2 separate regions of the Homo sapiens genome follow, and region 1 is linked to region 2. Evidence: promoter capture Hi-C in 16 types of primary human blood cells and fetal thymus (Javierre and others, 2016). All regions are on one chromosome and are shown on one strand. The core of a region is centred on a gene start or on the middle of the fragment in contact, and the rest is flanking DNA. Distances in the headings are between cores, read along the strand shown.

Region 1 (4,149 bases), core at 1,370-3,869, 310 kb before region 2:
GCCTCCGGAGTAGCTGGGACTACGGGCATGTGCCACCACGCCTGGCTAATTTTTTGTATTTTTAGTAGAGACAGGGTTTCACTGTGTTAGCCAGGATGGTCTCCATCTCCTGACCTCATGATCTGCCCGCCTTGGCTTCCCAAAGTGCTGGGATTACAGATGTGAGCCACAATGCCTGGCCTCATTTTTCTAATTTAAAGAAAACCAGTTGTAAAGTGGAGACTTACTCTCCTTGGCCCACCCACCTTAAGCAGCAACTGGATTTGATAAAAATTTTTGTAAAATAAATAACTAGATTCCCAAGGCATTAAAAAATAGCCACTGAAAAAATCATATGATGAAATGTTCTTGGGTCTCACAACACATCCCACTAGTTCCAGTGCCATGATCAGGGCCAGGGGCATGGCAAGCCCTCCATGAAGGTTTGCTCACCTAAGTGAACCCGGCTCCAAGAATCAAAGAGGACTTGGGATAGTGGAAATGGGTCTGGGCCTCAGCCTCAGCACATCTTATGGTAGCCAATAATCTTCTGCTCAGATGAAGACATACGCTAGTATTTTGTTCTTTCAGGAAGTGTCTCTTGAGACTTTTTTCACTAATTAGTAAGGCAAGTAATAGATGGTCCCCAACTCCCTATCTCCCACTCCATTATCAACAAAGTGGGTTATTCTCTATGAGTATGATGTGCAACTTTGATTCTCTGCCTAATAAATGCCCTTTACTGCCAAATAAATGTTAAATAATCAGCCATCAATTCCACAGAGACCATCAAAGTGAAAAACATTAGATGTCAACGTTCCCAGAATCACCACATCTGGGAGAGAAGTCCTGTTAATATGCAGTTTGACAAGTGCAATCAGGACATTCTGCCACGTGTTCAGATCCAACCCAGAGCTGGGAGGCATGGGTTCTAGGTGACTGGGCCCCTGCAGAGCTGCCAGCACTCTGCTGTCTGCAATGAGAATAAAAAGGAATAGAAGAGAAAAGAGACCAGGTGCAGTGGCTCACACCTGTAATCCCAACACTTTGGGGTGCCAAGGCAGGTGGAATCTGTGAGCTCCAGGAGTTTGAGACCAACCTGAACAATGTAGTGAAAACCCATATCTACACAAAATACAAAAATCAGCTCAGTGTGGTGGCAGGTGCCTGTAGTCCCAGCTACTGGGGAGGCTGAGACGGGAGGATCGCTGGAGCCCTGGGAATGAGCCAAGATTGTGCCACTGCACTCCAGCCTGGGCAACAGAGTGAAACCCTTGTCTCAAAAAAGAAAAAAAAAAGAGAGAGAGAGAGAGAAAAGATCCCCGTTTGTCATCATCACTCTGGGCACTCCAAAGTGAGGTCTCCTGTGTCTGGATGTAATTTTTGGATATTTTCTAATCAGCACAAATTAAACAAAAGGAATAGAAAGAGGGAAGTAAAAATGCCAATACCTTCCCACACCAACAAAACTAAATGAAATACCCACGTGTCCTGGGTCCACGATCTCCAACCAATACCTGGCTTCAGTGCAAACAAGACTGACAATATGTTGCAGGTGGATTCAGGTAATTTAAGATTACTGTTTAAACCGAGGATCCATGGGAGGAAGAAAACAGAAACAAAACCCGAAACACCCACTGATACATTTCAGACTTAAACAACATAAGAACTTGGCACAGGTAATGCCAAGTTATGGTTTCAACACACTATGTACATCTTTAGCATACTGGAGGTGTTTTCTTTAAATACATGCCAGGGAGTTCACACTCAGGGAACTAGGCACGGATTTTCTGATTCTTTTCCACCTACACAGATAGGCCCTTGACCTAAGAGGATCCCGTCCAAGATTACAACATATATTACTATTGTCACTATTACTAATGTCATTCAGATCCATCTTGTATGTTAGCAAAATGGTCAGATAATAGAGATTGGTGTAGGAATTCAACCATCTCCCTGGCATCTGTATTTCAGAAGCCCCCAAAAGTTATAACTTCCTGAAATACCAAACCTGAGAGTCTCGCTGGTCCAGGTTGGGATTGAGGCTGAGGATAGCAAGGGCAACCAAAGAGCCCTAGAGTTCTCAGGGGGCCGCCGAGGTCCCCCGGAAGCCACAATGCTGGGCCTTGGGCCCGGGCCAGCAGAGGGGATTGCGGCCTCGGCCGCGCCCTGGCCCCCTGCCCCATCCCCGCGCAGCCTGAGCCGTCGGGGCCCGGCCAGGGGTGGACCGGGCGGTACTCACCGCAGGTTGCGGTCGACCATGTCCCACCAGGCGGCCACGCAGCTACGGGCTGGGGGCCCGGGCGGCTCGGGCGATGCGGCCGCCTGGCAGTCCTGCGCGTCCATCCCGCGCCGTGTCCCGATACGCCGCCACCGCCGCGGGAGCTGCAGTCCGGAGCAGCCGCCCGCGACCTTCCCGCCCCGGCGGCACCGCGCCCGCCCTCCTCCTCCGCGCGGTCAGGCAGGCTGGTACGGCGGGGGAGACGCGGCCCGAGGGTGCGCTCCGCCCGGGTCAGGCTGTTCGCGGCCACACACACACACACAGATGTCCTAAGCTTATAGCTAGCTATGCTACATTTTATTTTAAATTGATTTCCATTATACTTCTGTGTGTGTGTGGGTGTGAGGCGCGCGCAACGCAGTAAAATATGTTTTCACCATGGTACTACTAACACAAAAGTTTGACCGCCACAGCTTTTGATTTTCATGAAGAATATAAGCTTTCCTCTACTTAAACCTCACTTTTTTCTTTTTCTCTTTTTCTGAAGCCTCCTTGTCTCCAATTCCCCATCCACCCCCAAAATCCTCACAGCCCCCCACCCTGTCACCCTTACTATAGAAAGAATTTCTTTGGCTCCCTTTGATTTACTAATGATTTGTCTGTCCACGTGGGGTTATGAACACAATTACTCCATGTAGCAAAAAATTAAGACCTTTTCGGTATTTTGTTTACGTAGCAGCATGTAGCAGAACCTCATCATTGTACCAAGGAGTTCACACCTTGAAACTTTGACCTTGGTACAGGTTTACATCTTGGTGCAGGTTTACATTGTGCAACTGTCTCCTAGGAGCAGGAACTGTCTACCAGAGCTACTCTAGGGAAGCCACGGCCTGCATGTGTGGGGACAAAGGAGGAAGAAAGGGAATTAGGTTTTATTTGGATACATTCGGATGCCAGCATCAAGGCTTCATCTTGGAGGCAAGGTGCAAATCTTAAGAGGTGAAATGGGTTTTTTGTAGTGTCTGTGTTCAGAGGGCACAGCAGGGGGCTGTCAGCACCAGAAAGTGCGTGGAAACCCATCTGCTTGAGGATAGTAAGATGGTCTGGGGGAAAATACCCACACTTTTCAAGAAAGGGAAGTTTTCTTTGAGTACTAGCTCATTTCATGGAACTGTCAGGGCAAAGGGGGATTTTGTTCACTGCCTGTTAATACTCTTATACTTGCTCTGGGAATGTTTGTTTTCTTTGTTTCTTTCTCTTTCCTTCCTTCCTTTCTTTCTTTCTTTCTTTCTTTCTTTCTTTCTTTCTTTCTTTCTCTTTCTTTCTTTCTTTCTTTCTTTCTTTCTTTCTTTCTTTCTTTCTTTCTTTCTTTCTTTCTTTCTTTCTTTCTTGTCATGGTCTTACCCTGTCACTGAGGCTGGAGTGCAGTGGTGCAATCATAGCTCACTGTACTTGAACTCACTTGAACTCCTGGACTCAAGCAATCCTTCCACTCCAGCCTCCCAAGTAGCTGGGACTACAAGCATGCACCACTATGCCTGGTGCGCGCGCGCACGCACGCTTGTGTGTATAGAGATGAGATCTCACTATGTTGCCCAGGCTGCTATCAAACTCCTGGCCTCAAGCAATTCTCCCACTTCGGCCTCCCAAAGTGCTGGGATTACAGGTCTCTGTCACCACACCTGGCTGGAATGTTCAGTTTCTGATTCACACACATCAAGATAGAAGAGGAATTAGCTCAGAAAGGACCAATGGGATCCAAGCCTGACTGATGAGCCAGCAGCAGGTGGGTTTTCACAGAGCCACAACCTGCATGATGAGAAAGCTTCAAGCAGATGTCGGCTCTACCCTTGGAGTTCTTCATAAACGTGGTCTGGAATCTCCCAGAACTTGTTCAGGGAAGCTCTGGATGGGACTCTGGGGCCATGCCAAGTGGAGATGGAGGGATC
Region 2 (4,045 bases), core at 170-2,669:
TAAACTGAAATAACCAATTAAAATTTACATTTGTGCCTCTCGCTCAAATAAACAGTTATAGAAGAGCTCTCACTGAGATGTGGAACAGAATCAAGCAGCTCTGAACTTTTCAAATAATAACAACTGTTATTTCCAAATAACAATTTCTAAATAACAAGCTGATGAACAAAATATTTATTTACCCACCAAGCCACAGTAGCCTGAGACATTCTCTGGTTCAGATAATAAAATAAATGCCTTAGAGGGCTTTCGTTCCTAAGATGCTGGTGAGTTTAGCACTGTGACTGCAAGAAATCGGGAACCTACGACAAAAAGACGCCCAGCCTGCCCACACTAACCGTCCAGAACTAGGTCTGGAGCAGCAAGGCGGGCGGGGCCGCGATTTCTTCCGCATCGCTGCGCCCGTTCTTCTCCGCCTGCGTGAGCACCGCCCACCCACTCGCGGTGTGAACATACTGGGTCTCGCCTCTCCTTTCCCCTCCCCTCGGCCTGGTGCTGAATCATGAGCCCAATGTCTCCAAAAGGTAAAATCAAAGAACAAAGCCACCCTTGGGGCTGGTCTGAATGGGGTACCACGTCGGGGTGGGGCAGAAGGCTGGAAACCACAACTTTGCTCTCCTTCTTCCCCAATTCCCCCACCCAACCCCCAAATTAAGAGGAGTACTGCAGTGCTCAGGAATTCCCAAGAGGGTGGCCCTTCTCCCAGTTGCTCGGTCTGCTACCGTCCGTCCGGGACCCGGCGCGCTCCGCCTCATTGTTCCAGCGCGCCGCCCGCCGCCCGCCGCCGGGAGCCCGCGCCCTGCAGAGCCAGCGAGTTGGCGGCTCCCGGGGAGGGGGGTTGGGGCTTGGCCTGCTCTAGATCCCCGACCCCTCGCCCCTCTGGGGCCGAGTAACAACAGCCCCCTGCCCACCCCCATAGCCTTCCTCCCAACCGATCGCTAAGGCGGAACCCACAAGTCCCCGGAGGCGCCTGGTGGGTGCTGTCCAAATGCTGGGAGGAGGCGGGAGGGGGGTGGGGAAGAAGGAGCTGGAGGCCCGGCCTGCGCGAAGCTGCAGCCCTCACCCCGACAGCGCGATTCGGTGACGCGGGTACCGCTCGGCCATGGTTCCTCCGCCCAAACAGGGAGCGGCTCGGCTACGGCCCGTCTCCCAGCCGTGGACGCAGGCACCTAGCAGCCCTTGGCCCTCCCTGTCTCCACAGAAGCAGAAAGTGGAGGGCCAGAAGACCCCGTGCAGGCTGCAGAAGTTCTCATTTGCTACTCACCCCAACTGTTTCTGTCCCTGCGGTTCTTGGCCATGGTGGTCCAGGAGCTGGTGGCGGTGAGGCGCTGTCACTGCGCTCGCTGCCTTCTCCGGGGCCGCAGGTTGCTGGCGGTGGGAGGCTCCGTGCCCGCGCTGGGCGCAGTTCGCTCAGACTCTGAGGATGTTGCTGTGGCGCTGGTGGGAAGGAGTGGGGAGGAAAAGGGAGGAGAAAGCAGATGAACCAAGCTCAGCATCACAAGCCCGAGTTCACACAGATACCAGCGTCACACCCTCCCTACCTCAGTCCACCCCCAGACCGTGAAGACAGTGATAGACCACGTACCGCAACATTTTCAACGGAAAACACAAACAAATAAACAGCACCCCCCTCGAACACACTCTCAAAGAATTTAACAGCGTTATCAGAAATACACAAACCGATATACTGCATGATTCTGGATGTTCAAATACCTGTTTCAAGCACGGTTATACATTAGTACAAACAAGCTGGCAACATTTATATAGCCAAAGTAGCTAAAATAATGTGCATTTATCTACGAGGCACCCATTTTTTTTTCCATTTTAAAAGCAAGGTCATGTTAGTAAAGAGGGTATCATGCATTTTTGTATATGTATACTGAGTAGTTTGTCTTAAAATTAGAATAGCAAAATTTATATCAAGAAGATCAAGATAAATGAAAGCTGTAGATTCATTACGATCTGTAACTCAATATCCACTGGGTAAAATTTCCCACTAGATTTGCAAAGATAAGGTCCAGACCTATAGTCCAATAGCAATTATTTGAGCTGAAATCATACTACATAGTCTGGGTATGGGTGGGCCCTGGCAGCCATAAAGGTTGCAGACAATTTTGAAAGGAAAAGAAAAAAAATAAAAATACTTTCAATCTTTCCCTTTTCACTGCTTTCTCTCTGCTACAAACTTAGTTGTTTTCAGTAACCTGGAAACACTGTCCCTTTATACTACCTCAACCTCAAGATACCATCATGCCGTCCCTTACAGTTTCCTTCTGCCATTTGGTTGTTACTCACACTCTGTACTGATCGGTTCTTAGGAGATCACTGCCAGCCTCTTAATTACCAGATCCATGATCTCTGCTAATTCCTCATGGTAAGCAACTCCTCACGCTACACTCTCTCAATGTAATTTACTATGATGGCTTCAGACAGGACCTCCATGCTGATGATTCCCAAATCTATACTTGTAGTCTTCTGCCCTCTAGAAGAGAGGACATTATACCAGAGGTGTGTTTATAACTGCCTAAGGTTATCCTCACGTTGTTTTCCTACTGACATTTGAACATCAACATATCTGAAAACAAACTCCCCCACCACTGCCAAATCTTATGCATTATATTTCAGTTACTGGTTCTAGTGACTGCAGAGTCGTGAACACTGTAACCAAGTTTACAACATGGTTTTAAAGAAGTCTGTGCTCAACAGAGTTGAAATGACATTAATGAAACAACATAGGAAGACAGACATTATCTCATCCTTATACCTATAAACCAAGTTCATAGAACAAAAGAGAAGTGTGGTCTGCTTTTCTTCTTATATTCCTTTACTATCATTCTCAGCTTACATTCCAGCCTGAAAATCCCTTTCATATGAATCCCATTTTTAAGAGTACAATAGATTACACACAAAAAAGAAAAAATTTATATAATTCAACACCTATGCCCAATTGAAAAAGAAATTAATTTTTTAAAAACCTGTTGTGTTTATAATTAGTAAGTAATCTGCAGGTGAATACTTTGAGACTGTGTGAATCACAAAAAAATGCTTAAATAAATAGCTCTCTGTATGTGACTTTTTGTACTATTGGCCAATAACTTTTCATCCACTGATTTTAGCATCCATTGATCCTTGCCTGAATCAATTTCATATTAGTGATTTTTTAAATGGAGGCTTTAAAATCATTATCTGTTGTTTGTTTGTTTTCCAGACACAGTCTCCCTCTGTTGCCCAGGCCGGAGTGCAGTGGCGTGATCTCAGCTCACTACAACCTCCACCTCCCAGGTTCAAGCGATTCTCATGCCTCAGCCTCTCAAGTAGCTGGGATTACTGGCGGTCGCCAGCACGCCTGGCTGTTTTTGTATGTAGAGACGGGGTTTCTCCATGTTGCCCAGGCTGGTCTCAAACTCATGAGCTCAAGCGATCTGCCCACCTCAGCCTCTTGATGTCATGTCTTTTAAATTAAGTAGCTGGCATTCCCTCTCCCACTTTTCTATGTTGAGTCCCTCTATAAATTAATGGAAGCTTTTAAAAAAATTGTGCTATGCATCACCATTCTTTTTAATGCCTAAATTCCCCTAATTTGGCTGAGGGTCAGCTCGTGTGTCCTTTTAACATTGTCCCTTTTTGTCTTTGAGCAGTTCCCTGTATTCTGGTAAAAGAAAATGTTTCAGGTTCCTTTGTATTTTCCCTATCTTAGAACTAGAATAGCCATTTCTCCAAGATGCTGTGGCTCCTTTTAACGAGAAAAGGTGTTTAGAAACCAAGACGTGGGTGCTAGTTGTGCTCATTGCTGGGTGAAGATCACTGTTTCTAGACCCTTTCAGTGGACATTGCTAGAATGCATCTTTTTAATCATAAGTTTAATCTACTCTGAAGAAATACCTCAATAGTATGAAAATATAAACATACATGGTTATGTATTACATTACTTTTTGTTATTGTAAAATGCTGGAAACAACCTGAATGCCCACATATAGATGAGTGGTTGAATACATTATAATACATATACGCAATAGAATGTTATGTAGGTGTGAAAAAGAATACA

What was found. The method cuts DNA at HindIII sites, captures the fragments that hold promoters and counts their contacts. A CHiCAGO score of 5 or more calls a contact.
Region 1: a fragment that was not itself captured here is called in contact with the fragment with the promoter of ATL1 in region 2 in 10 of 17 cell types (total CD8 T cells, endothelial precursors, naive CD4 T cells and 7 more); the score reaches 7.7 in total CD8 T cells.

Annotation. Positions count from the first base shown.
Region 1 is chr14:50,870,351-50,874,499 of GRCh38, reverse strand. ABHD12B (abhydrolase domain containing 12B) reads right to left here and starts at 2,447. Exons shown (of 13, transcript NM_001206673.2): 1 at 2,222-2,447. The coding sequence starts at 2,325. The HindIII fragment of the contact is 165 bases long and covers 2,537-2,701 here.
Region 2 is chr14:50,557,519-50,561,563 of GRCh38, reverse strand. It overlaps ATL1 (atlastin GTPase 1), which reads right to left and starts at 1,419. Exons shown (of 14, transcript NM_015915.5): 1 at 1,265-1,419. The coding sequence starts at 1,298. It also overlaps a transcript of MAP4K5 not described here. RefSeq lists a silencer at 725-1,084 and an enhancer at 826-1,325. The HindIII fragment of the contact is 3,968 bases long and covers 1-3,524 here.